3 separate regions of the Homo sapiens genome follow, and regions 2 and 3 are each linked to region 1. The links are contacts of gene promoters, found by promoter capture Hi-C in human tissues and cell types (Jung and others, 2019). All regions are on one chromosome and are shown on one strand. The core of a region is centred on a gene start or on the middle of the fragment in contact, and the rest is flanking DNA. Distances in the headings are between cores, read along the strand shown.

Region 1 (4,118 bases), core at 620-3,119:
ACAAATACAAACATAACCCCCTCACACACACATACACACACACACACAAAAGCCTACAGGAGTTGCATAAACAAAAAACTACTGTTTGCACAAATACACACATTTGCAGGCACACACACACAGCGACTGGCACACAAACATAGCTCTTCAGAATTCTGCACTCACAAACACAACCAAGCCAGCTCAGTCTCATACACACAGGGTCTCAAGCATGCACGCCCTCACCTACACACAAACACACACATTCAGATTTTTCAAAGTACACCTTCACATCAATGCTTGCAAACACAGACACAAACACTCTTACGTGAATGCACACGTACACATGAAAACACCCTCACATTTATGCATCCTCAAATAAGCAAACACACATAGGCACAGACCAACAAAAATAAAAGTGCACACAGTGATAAACACAAACATTAGCAGGACCATACACAATTACAAACACACGAATCTGCACACACGAAAACGCACACGCAGAAATTTACTCACAGGATTGATGGTACTAACACAATAAACAGATGCAAAAATGGAATTCTCAAACAGCGAGTATACACTAACAAGCTCAGGAAACACACCCAAACAAACATTCACAGCCAAGTGCTGGCACAAACCCCTCCAGCTCCAGCCCTTGGTCCCAGGCCCTACTCCCTCAGCCCCCTTTCCAGAAGCGAAAGGCAAATCCTGGTTGCCCATTCCCGGCTTCCCCAACTAGGATCCCTGGTGGCCACGCTGGCCCCAGGGGAAAGGAGGCCTGGTCCCTTCTCCTACTCAGACCCACACACCCCCTCCTCACGCACACCTGCCAACATCCCCCCTCCCCCTTAACACACACACACTCTCTCTCCTCACACTCTGGGCGCCCTGCCGAGCACGGAACATACGTGCGCCGCTTCTCCTGCGCCCAATGAGGGGACGAACTTGCACACCCAGCCCGCACGGCGTGAATACAAACAGCGCTCTCATAGTCGCTGGTGTCCCCCGCCTCAGCCGTACGACCCACTCACCACAGTGCCCCATAGGCTGACCTGGAATCTGGAAGGTGCAGCGAGGAAAGGAGAGACGTGGTGAGTGCCACCTCCGAGCTGTCTGCGGGAAGACCCGTCCACCCTGAATCTCCCCCTGTCCACATCTCCCTCAGAGCCCCGTGAGCAGCGCACTCAGGCCTGAAACTCTGGAGTTCGGGACCAGGCCAAATGGCACCCCTCCTGCTCCCCCGCCTCCCCACCCTGGGCCTGGGCCTGGGCTCGGCGGCCGGGCGGGGAAAACTACCCAGGCCGCGCGGTCTCCACTAGCTCTCTCCATGAGAAAGGCCCGGCTGGGCCCCAGCCCCGTGTATGACAAAAAGAAGCCGGGGCCGGCTCCAGGAGCCGGGAGAACCGCGCTGACGCAGCTTCAGGGCGCAGAGGGGGCGCGGGGGTGGGGGAATCCAATCTGGGCTGGCTGGGCTGGAGAAGGGGAGCGAAGTGTGGGGCGTGGGGCAACTTCTGCAAGTTCCAGGGATGGCGAAGGGGGCAGGGGTACCTCCCGGACTAGGCCTTGGAACCCGTGACCCCCAAATATTTGTGAGGAGAAAGAGAGAGGAAGAGAGACGCAATTTTCGTTTCGCGCTGCCCCCGCCCCGTCAGCCCCAAACTGGAAGGTAAATACTTACTTAGCCTCCGAACCAGGTACAAGCTAATACTCAACAATACTGATGCCTTGTTTTTTTTGCTCTGTCCGGACAGCAACGCTGTAGCCAATTTAGATATGCTATAAATTTAAGAGGTTGCCATGGCCACGGTGCGCCCATTGGCCGCTGGGCCCCCTACGTGCAGCGCCACGTCACCAAATCTGAATAAGGATGCGCGAATTACGCGGCGACCAGACAAAGATGAGGATCCGGACCGCTTGAAAGTGGGGGAAAGTGCCGGCGCCTCCGCCACCGGGGAAAGCCGCTCCGCAGCGCCGAGGCCAGCAGCCACCCGAGATACCTGGGGAAGCCCGGAACAGGCGCCGGGGCGTGCGGCCCGTGGCATGAGGTTGTGAACGCCACCCGCCCCCCACCACCCCACTCCGGGCAGCCCAGCGCCAGGCCAGAGATTGCCCAAGGACTGGACCGGCTGAGTCTTGGTCCGGACCAGACTCGCCCTGCAGCTGCTGAGACAAGAGGCGAAGGGCAGCGGAGGGCCCGGCAGGCCCGAGGGCCAGGGGCCCAAAGGGAGGGCAAGGCGGCCGAAGCCGCCGGGGCGCGGGGCTATGATGGTGCACTGCGCCGGTTGCGAGCGGCCCATCCTCGACCGCTTTCTGCTGAACGTGCTGGACCGCGCGTGGCACATCAAATGTGTTCAGTGCTGCGAGTGCAAAACCAACCTCTCGGAGAAGTGCTTCTCGCGCGAGGGCAAGCTCTACTGCAAAAATGACTTTTTCAGGTAAGAGGCCGCGCCGCTCTGCTGCCTGCGCGCCCACCCTGCGCGCGCTCCACTGGGGCGCTGGGGAAGGGGATACCCCCATCCCCATCCCAGCCTCCCCGGATCACAAGCTTAGATGGGGAGCGGGCAGCACTTTGCTCTCCTCCTGTCCTTGGTCCAGGAAAGGTCCCGAGCCCAGGCGGAGGAAGAAGGACGCTGCTTCGCTGCCTCACGTTGGCTCGAGGCCGGCTCAGAGCGCTGGCGGGGCAGAGGGAGGAAGCCCTGACAAACTTGCTATCCACTCCTCTCCGCCCCTTCCAAGCAGCTGCAACCCCAAGACAGAAGCTTCAAGCCCCGTCCCGAGAGAGAGGAAGGATTTTTGCATGAGTTAGAGACGCCTGAAGGCTTCTCGCTCCAGGCAGAATGTGTGAGCCCATCGGCCGCAATCCCAAACAGAAACTTCTCAGCTCCAGAGGGGGCCCAGCGAGGAAGGTCTCCCCTGGTGATGGGAGGAGAGAACCTCCCCCACCCACCTCCCAACCCCTTAAACATTTCCTCCCATGTTGAAAAGTAGAAACGAAATCGAGGCTGAGAATCAGGACCTCTGGGGTCTAGACTGGGCTGTGGCACCTCCCCAGCCCCCCTACCCCTGTGGGCCCTGTGGCTGGCCAGGGCAGATCACCTCTCTGGGCCTCAGTTTCCCCAGCCTGGAAGCCACTGGAGTTTGGGGCAGCTGAGCCCTACCTGTTTCCTCTGGGCACCCAGAGCCGGCTTTGTGAACAGGAATTCCCCGCGCTGAGGAATGGGGGCGTGAATCACGCCACAGAGAAAGGCAGCCTGCCGGCCCCAGCGACTCCGCACTGAGAATTTGAATGGGAGAAAATGTCAGCCGCTCCTTTACACGTGTTAACTCCCTGGACCCGGAGGCCCGATGCCCCTAATGTAGCAGTGCTTGCAAAGTGCCTAATGATTTTTGATAAGGTGCATATGGCCAATTACGCTGCCGGATAAGGCCAAAAGTGACTTATGGCTTCTAATGCCCTCACTACATCAATGTCACCCAAATTCGCCCTGTTTAGAGACATGGGTGTGAGTAGATGTGGGGTCCCTAGAGTCCTGGGTCCTCCCCCACCCCACCCCCAACCTGAGCCTCACCCATCTCCTATTTCGGGGGAGGCTGGCTTTCTCCCTGAGCTCAAAGAAGAAAGAAAAGGAATGAGATCAGGAACGCGGGAAAGCGGGGATTTGAGAGATTCCTGTCCTGGCCTTGCAGGATCTATGATTGTCCTCTATTCACATTCCCCTGCTGCCTGCCAGGCCAGAGGTTTAGGGGGGCTGAAACTCATCCCTGCTCTCTAGGGTCCATCACTATGAGGCCCTGCTGTCCACAGCTCCTGATTAGCTCCAGCGGGTCCCAGAGCGGTGGATTGGAAAGCCTCTCCATTGGTACTGGAAATCAGTGGAAGGTTCCCTCCTTTCTGCTTCCTCCTTCCAGCCTAGGAGAAGGGCTCCCCACCTCATGGCTAGGCTCAGCCAGCCAGGCAGATTGGCCCTAGCTAGGCAGCAGCAGACTAGAAAGGATCCAGGAGGCAGAGCCACCAAGTGGCCCAAACCCTCCCCGCCTGGCTTCAAATCATTCATGGACTCTGAGTTTGCCTGGAGCAGCCCAGGCAGGCCTGGCAGGGGTTGGGTTTGGGGGAGGACATCTTGGGGTGCTCTGGGCTC
Region 2 (4,118 bases), core at 529-3,028, 170 kb before region 1:
CAGTCAATCAATCAATCAATGATAGTAATAGTAATGGCGGTTACTGATTGAGCTCTTCCCGTTGCCATAACATTTTATATTCTCATTTAATCCTAGAAGATACACCATGATATGGGTAGCGTATTCTTATTTTTCAGATGAGGAAACAGTCTCAGAGAGCAGAAGTGACCTGTGCAAGGTGACAAGGCCAGAAAGTGGTAGAGCTGAGACTTGTGCCAGGTGTGCCTGGCTTCAGGGCCCTAATGACTGCCATTCTGCCTCCACTTAGAGGCCATCAAAGGAAGCAGCTGTAACGACATGGAGAGTCCAAGAGGCCAGGATTCAAGTCCTCCTCCTGCCACATTCCAGTTAACCTGGCAAGATTCCCTTCATCTCTCTGGGCATCCATTTCCTTCCCTGCAAAATGGGCATCATCTCCCTGCCTCCCCAACTGTTGGGGAGGATTTATGATTAGAGAAGTACCCGGCACAGTGATCACAAGGAGATGCTCCAGGAGCCGTCCCCACAGAGGCGAACATGTGCAATGCTCACCTCCCGCATCCCCTCTGCAAAGCAGGAGAATTGGATTTGATCATTTCGAATGCCCCTCTGGCCTGGCTAAGTCTTGGCCTTGATAGTTTGGGGGTCAAATGCTTCTACTTCAGCCCCTGTCAGCCTCTGCCAGGCTCAGAGAGACGTCGGGTCTGAAATGCACCAGTTCAGCCACTCCTGCCTGCTTGCTGGCGTTTCCACGGGCACTGGGTGGCGGCTCCATCCCCTTGGCCATTCCCCACTCAGTGCCCAAGCCTCGCATCCCAATGGGGGGCCATGGGGCTGCGGCTAATTGCAAATCATTTCTCAGGGCTCCCCGCTGTTCGGCTAAATTCACTGGAACTAATGTGTCCCGAAACAAATTTCACAGAAGAGCCAGGGCAATTACATGATGCTTAGTTCTCCTCCCCACGTCCCCCACCCGGGGCTGCTCCGGGCCAGGGGCAGAGAGGGCTGGGTAGAGTGGGGCCGGGAGCTTGGAGGCAGGAGTCTTCTCTGGGACCAGAATGTTCTTCCCTTCCACCTCTGAACCCCCACCTATGGCCCCCTCTTCACTGTACCTTCTGCTCCTAAATCTTATCCCTGCTCTCACAGCACCCAGCATCACCCTTCCTCCCTTCTTGAATTCAGGAGGCATCTTGATGTCTCCGGCAAGCACTGGCTCCAAAACCAGGCAGACTTGAGTTCAAATCCCAGCCTCAGCATTTATTTGCTGTGTGTGCTTAGAAAAGTCACAACCTCTCTGGGCCTGTTTCCGAATCCCTGAAATTAGGATACCATCACTTGGCTGGCATCAGCCAATGTGAAGATTAAGTCAAGCAGCACAAGTGAAATATTTTATGTAGGTCCAGCACATGGTAAGTTCTTGGTAACTATTGGTCCCCTCTGGCACCTACTTCAGTATGATCATTTCAAGGGGATCAGGTGAACCATCTTTTAGGAGCATCAGAATCAATTCCAAACGAGAGGAACCTGAAAGAAAAGACCCAGCCCCCACTCCCAGAACCAGGTACCAGCAAGCCCAATCCCCTGCCTGCTGTTCCACCATTCCATCTCACTCCAGCCTCGTCCTTCCAGATCTCTCCCATCAGAATAATTCTCCCCTTCCTCCAGGGCTCCTCGGCATGTCCCCTGTGTCTCTCTGAGCGCCTTCATTTTGTTTTGCATTGCTGCTGTCTTGGTTGACTAAAGCTGGGTGCAGCGGCTCACGCCTGTAATCCCAGCAACTCAGGAGGCTGAAGCAGGAGGATCATTTGAGGCCAGGAGTTCAAGACAAGCTTGGGCAACATTGTGAGATCTTGTCTCTACAAAAAAATTAAAATAAAGGCTGGGAGTGATGGCTCACGCCTGTAACTCCAGCACTTTGGGAGGCTGAGGCAGGTGGATCCCTTAAGCCCAGGAGTTTGAGACCAGCCTGGCAACATGGTGAAACCCTGTCTCTACAAAAAAAATACAATAATAATAATAGTAATAATTTTTAAAATAAAAATAAAACTTAGCTAAGTGTGATGGCACATACCTGTAGTTCCATCTACTTGGGAGGCTGAGGTGGGAGGATCACTTGAGTCTAGGAGTTTGAGGCCGCAGTGAGCTATGATTGAGTCACTACACTCCAGCCTGGGTGACAGAGAGAGAACCTGTCTCAAAATAAATAAATGAAAATAAAAATAATTAAAGAACCACGTGGCCAAGACATGAAAACCATGCAGGCCAGTTGCCGGTGACCTTTTCCATCATGGTATCTGTGGTGAGCAGCCCCAGATCCTGATGCTATTTGCACCCAGGGGTAACATGTCCCCTCGGGGCTGGTTCTGAGTCCACTCCTTTGCTTTCGACCCAAGACAGCACCAGCCTGACCGCAGGTGCATCAGGGAGACGGTCCTATATGACTGGATTCACATCATCTTTACTTTCCAAAAGTTAGGAAACCAATCACTCACTCCTTTGCACAAAACTTAAACACACCTAAAATGAGTATATTGAAACATCGAAGTCCAATGATGACTTCAGCACATACCTGCTGAGCCCCTCCTAAGTGCCAGTTCCCATGTAAGGGGCTGAGAAGCCAACAGTGAAGACAGACCCAGTCTCTGTCCTTGGCTAACATTCTTGGTAGATGAAAGACATTAAAGAAGCAAAGACACATGATCATATCAGTGCCAAGTACAATTAAGATAATAAAGATAAAACAAAAATGATCCAGTGAGTACTAGATATTTATTAGATGGGGGATCCTAAGATGGTGACATTTCAACTAGAAACTTAGTAACAAGAAAAGGGGCCTGAGGCAAAGTTCCAGGAAGGACCAGCAAGTGCAAAGGCCCTGGGGTAGGAATGCACTGGCGAGGCTAGAGGTGCAGGAGCAAGGTGGAAAGGGGAACAGATGAGATCAGCTGGGCTGGAAGCGAGGGTAAGGTCCTGAGGGTTAGGGGAAGCCACTGGAGGGTTTTATGTAGGGGAAACTGATTTGGGCTTTTAGAAGATCCCTGCAGCTGTGATATGGAGAAGGGATTGGGGGAGGAGTGGAAGCAGAGAGGCCAGTAGCAAAGCTGTCATCTGGGCTCAGACGGGGATGGGGACGCTGCAGAGATGCAATCCCATCCAGTCGTCCAGTCATTGGGGAAACTGAGAGTCCAAGAGGGGACACTGCCTGCCCCAGGCTGCCTGATCAGTCAGTGATGAGGTGCAAATTTGGAGTTCCTGTCTCAGGCCAGGCTCTCTCATTTCACCACCATTAACTGCTCTGTGGGGGAGCCAGGGCAGAGAGAGCTCCAGCTAAGGCTTCCACGCTTCCAGTATTAGAGGACTTACCACTTAAAGAATCCCTGTAGCGTATCCTTTTGTAATGAGAATAATCACCCCTAATTTATCTGCTTCATAAGTTCAGTATCACCTTTCTTTTGAGCGCTGTGAACATATCTGTATTCCTGCCCAGACATAAAATACTATTTTAAAAACATAACTTGGGGTTGCTTATGAGAGCTGTCATGTCAGTGAGCACTTTTGGGGGCACAGGCTGTGCGATTCGTCTCTGTGCCCCACTGGTACATGAGATGCATGCAATAAATAATAATTTAGAAAAATAACAGGCAGCAATGATTCCACCCTTACTATGTGCCAAGCACGTTCATTAATTTCTTCATCTAGTTTTCATAATACAGCTGGAAGTGGGCTCTGTTACTGTCTCCATTTTATAGATGGGGAAACTGAGGCTCAGAGAGGTGAAGCCACTTACCCAGTGTCACACAGCCTGCAAAAGCCAGGCTCGAACCAGGTAACAACTAAAACCATGTCCTGAAACTCAAGGTCTACTGTTTGAGGGAGGGAAGGAAGAAGGGAAAGAAGGAAGGAGGGAGGAAGGGGAGGAAGGAAGGAAGGAAAGAAGGGAGGGAGGGGGAGGGAGCAAGGGAGGGAGGGAGCAAAGGAAGGAAGAGGAAGGAAGGAAGGAGGGATGGAGGGGAGAAGGAAGGAAGGAGAGAGAGGAGAGAGGTAAGGAAGGAAGGAGAGAGAGGAGAGAGGTAAGGAAGGAAGGAGAGAGGGAGGGAAGGAAGGAAGGAAAGAAGGAAGGAAGGAAGGAAGGGAGAGAG
Region 3 (4,118 bases), core at 767-3,266, 150 kb before region 1:
CAGCCTCCCAAAGTGCTGGGATTATAGGCATGAGCCGCTGCGTCTGGCCTCTAACCGCTGTATTATGTCAGCTTCAGGAGGGCAAGAAATCATGCTGGTCAGGTTGGTCATATGCACTGCTGTTTCTCCAGCACCCAGCCCTCCCTGACACAAAATGGGTGCTCAAAAAAAACCTGAATGTATGTATGTATGGTTGGATGGATGGATGGGTGGATGGATGGACGGATGAATATGAACTGGAATAAACTGGCTTCCTGAATCTTGGAGGATGGATGGGAGAGAGACCAGAAGAGAGGAAAAGAACTCCCCAAACACACTCAAAGTCAAGAAATAATTGAAGCCCCTCTCCTACATCCCAGAATCCCAGCACTAGAGGAATTCTGGTTAAAGATGCTGTCCCAGAAAACCAGAGAAGCCTTCTCTCTCCCCACAGATCTTCTTGGGACTTTGTGTTGGGAGGAGGTCTCAACTCTGTGCCCCGGAGCCTGGTTGGTGGCCATGGGGACAGGGAACTGTCAGAGGAGCTGATGAAAAACAGGCTTTGCTCTAGGGGCTCCAGCACAGCCCAAGAAACCAGAAAATTAGTGATGTTTGCTGAGCAAACATTGCCGGGTGTGGAGAAGCTGCTGGCGGAGTGTTTAACACATAGCTTGTATTTGCTGGCAAATATCCCCACCCTGCCAGGCCCCTCTGATGGGGCTGCTGGTGCACAGAGGATGGGGGAGATCAGGGAGAGCTGTAAGGGTTCCCAGGAGAGGTTCCTGCAGGGGCAAGGAGAGAGGGAGGAAAGGGAGCTCCACAAAGATTCGCCCTGTCTTAAGGGGCCCGAGAAGGCTGGGAGGACACTAGGGGCCTGATCTGAAGGCATGGGGAGAGTCCACTCACTCGCCCCTACCCCAGCCAAGCCAGCCTGGGGTCCACGTAACCTTAGCAGGTCAGAGAGATAGGACCCTTCAAAGGCAAACACCCACTTTCTTGCTGTGCGATGGTGGACAGGTTACAGAGTGTCTCTGAGCCTTGGCCTCATCATATGTAAATAATAAAACAGCTGATATTTCTAAAGCATCTACTACGGGCGCTAACTTCTCTGTGCCTCAGTTCCCCCATCTGTAAAATGGGGACAATATTAGTGTTGCCCTTACATTTTTGGTTTTCCTTTTTATTAAAAAATTTTTAAAACCTATAAAAAAGTTGCAAGATCCATGAACACTTGTATATTCTTATCTGTATTCCCCAATTGCTAATATGTTGACACATATGTCTCCATATGAATTCATCTATCTGCATACCTATCTACTTCATTTTGTTGAGCCATTCGCAAGTTGTAGCCTTGTACCATCTCACCATGAAGTTCTTAGGGTGCATTTCCTAATCACAACATCACCCCCATGTAATTATCCAATTCAGGGACTTTGACTTTGCCACGATTCTCTTATCTAACATACATGTCATACGTTTTGTGAGAAATAAATGAGTAATATTTTAAAGCCCTGAGGACAGTGCCAGGCACAGTGTAAGTGCTCAGTAAATATCTTTTTTTTTTTTTTTTTTGAGACAGGATCTTATTTTGTTGCCCAGGCTGGAATGCAGTGGCACAAACAGTGCTCACTACAGCCTCGACCGCCTGGGCTCCAGCAATCCTCCCACCCCAGCCTCATGAGTAGCTAAGACTACAGGTGCACAGCACCACACCTGGCTAATTTTTAAAATTTTTTAGAAAAGGGGTCTCACTATGTTGCCCAGGCTGGCCTTGATCTTCTGGGCTCAAGTGATCCTCCTGCTTCAGCCTCCCAAAATGCTGGGATTATGGGTGTGAGCCACTATGCCTGGCCCAGTATTATGAATTTTTAAATCAGTGCTGTTATGTTGTTACTGTTGCTGCTATTGTCACTTGGAGCAGAGGGGTCATCACCGTTACGGCCTGTGACCTGGGCTGGCACAGGCCCCTCCCACTCCAGGCCCTGCCCCATTGCTGTCTCCTGGAGTCTGGTCACAGTGAAGGCCCGGAGGACAGATGTCAGCAGATGGATTCCAGCACTTGAGAAGATCTTCCGGGAGTCCAAGGTTTGGCCTTTCAGGGACCACGGGGCTTCCTGTACAGAGCCTCAGGTCTCATCTTCCAAATAGACCCCTAAACTACCCACGACCAGGGTGAAAAGGGAGGAGCTCAATTCTGGGAAGGTACCAATGCTGTATGAAGACCAGGCACACCAGAGATGTGGGGCCAGGGAAGGACTGAGCCAGCCCTGCTGCCAGGATGCTGTGTTAATCCTGGGGCTGGACTTCAGCCTCCTCTTCTGCAAGATGGCAGGTGGGCAGAGGATAAACAGGTTCCTGAGTTCACTTCTCTCCTTCTGGAGTCCCTTCCAGATCATAGATCCACTGCATGCCTGAGACAGCAAATGCTCCTAGAACAGGGGGGAACTATGCAGCCCCATCAGAACCCCCTCCAAATCTGCATTGCACCTCCCGCCATGTTCCTGAAAGCCCCTTCCTCCTCCTGCCCCCTTACCTGAAAGAAGGGCCCAGCCCCGGGGACAGGCATCTGGAGGTGCCTCAGCTTCCTGCCTTCACTGTGCCTACCTCCATGTATGTATCCAAGAGCCTACCCAAACCCCAATGCTTTTAATACCCATTGCCTGGTTTCATTAAAACTGTGGCTTAGTTTCTTTTAGAAATTCATTCATTCATTCATTCACTCAAAAAATATTTCTTGGGCACCTACAATGAACCAAGCCCTGTACCAGGCATTAGAATACAAGACAGACAAAGTATGTGTCCTCATTAAGATGATGTTCTAGTTGGGGGTGGAGGACAATGGATCAAACACAATAATAATAATAATAATAATAATAATAATTGTTAACACTTCTATACTGCTTACTCCATACCAGGCAGTGTTCTGAGCACTTTACATACATCATCTCACTTAATCAGTATTACAATCTCATGAGATGGGTACTAGTATGACCATTTTACAGATAAGAAAAATGTGACACAGAGAGGTTAAGAAACTGCCCAAAGTCACACAGAAAATGAGGGAGGTCCCTGCAGATAGTGCTGAGGGCTACAAAGGAAGTGGAAAGGGGATGTTCTAGGAAGTGACTGGCTGGGAGATGACTTTGGATTCACTGATCTGAGAGGATGACATTTGAGCAGAGACTCACATGATGTGAAGGAGCCAGCAATGATCTCAGAGGACAGTGTTCAAGGCAGAAGGAACCACAGGACAAAGACCCCACAGCGGGAGGAAGCTTGGGGCATGCAAGGAACAGAATGAAGGCCGGCGAGGGGGCCTTCCTTCTGCAAGAGAGGTACAGAGAGGACAGAGATGCTCTCAGCAGCTGGGCTGACTTCTTGCATCCCCATCATTCCCCCTTCTCCATCCCCTCGCTGCCCTGTGCCCATCAGTTTAGGGGACCACCTTGTGCTCAGCCTCTCTCCCCAGATGCTGCCACCAGCAGCCATGCAGGACTTGGGTGTCCTTGACCAGTTGCTGCCATAGTTTGTATTCTTTATCACCAGCAGCCTTCTGGCTCCTCCCAGAGCTCCATCCACCAGCCCAGAGGTGACCTCAAAGAAACCATAAGACCTCTAAGCCATATGTAGAAGACAGCCTCAGTCCCCACGGAGGGATGGCCCCTGCTCCACCTTTACACAGAGACCTCAAGTTTTCAGGAGGCTCTGGACCCAGTTCTTTTCTAGGAAAGCAGCTTCACCAATGGATGCTCAAGTCAAATTTTAGGAGCCTGGTTCTTCCCAAGCCCTTGAAAGGAAAGGAGAGAAGGAAGTCAGAGAAAAATCTGATGGGGTAGGCAAGTTATTCTCCCACTCTGGAGAGGAATGATACTCATGGGACAACCAGGTGGCAGTAAGAAGTGGCCCAGGAGCCAGACATCCAGGTATCAGTGCTGCTCTCTGAGCCACAGTTTCTCCTCTATCACTGTGAAGCAAAGACTGGATCATCCCAGGCCTGATTTTCTTTTTCTTTTTTTTTTCTCTCCATAGGTTTTTGGGAAACAGGTGGTATTTGGTAACAGGAATAAGTTCTTTAGTGGTGATTTGTGAGATTTTGGTGCACCCATCACCCGAGCGGTATACACTGAACCCAATTTGTA

Evidence for each region. The method cuts DNA at HindIII sites, captures the fragments that hold promoters and counts their contacts. A contact is called where the count stands out against the background at its distance.
Region 2: a contact is called between a fragment that was not itself captured here and the fragment with the promoter of LHX5 in region 1, in 1 of the 25 tissues and cell types used here (H1 embryonic stem cells).
Region 3: a contact is called between a fragment that was not itself captured here and the fragment with the promoter of LHX5 in region 1, in 1 of the 25 tissues and cell types used here (stomach).

Annotation. Positions count from the first base shown.
Region 1 is chr12:113,469,622-113,473,739 of GRCh38, reverse strand. LHX5 (LIM homeobox 5) reads left to right here and starts at 1,869. Exons shown (of 5, transcript NM_022363.3): 1 at 1,869-2,414. The coding sequence starts at 2,242. LHX5-AS1 (LHX5 antisense RNA 1) reads right to left here and starts at 1,737. Exons shown (of 2, transcript NR_126425.1): 1 at 1,658-1,737. RefSeq lists an enhancer at 1,987-2,787. The HindIII fragment of the contact is 9,096 bases long and covers 1-4,118 here.
Region 2 is chr12:113,642,525-113,646,642 of GRCh38, reverse strand. LOC105369990 (a long non-coding RNA gene) reads right to left here. Exons shown (of 4, transcript XR_945348.1): 2 at 3,343-3,458; 3 at 2,549-2,639; 4 at 2,128-2,168. Among named protein-coding and RNA genes, the nearest start is that of LINC01234, 130 kb to the left of the region's middle. The HindIII fragment of the contact is 7,423 bases long and covers 1-4,118 here.
Region 3 is chr12:113,615,925-113,620,042 of GRCh38, reverse strand. No RefSeq gene overlaps it. Among named protein-coding and RNA genes, the nearest start is that of LHX5-AS1, 150 kb to the right of the region's middle. The HindIII fragment of the contact is 6,396 bases long and covers 1-4,118 here.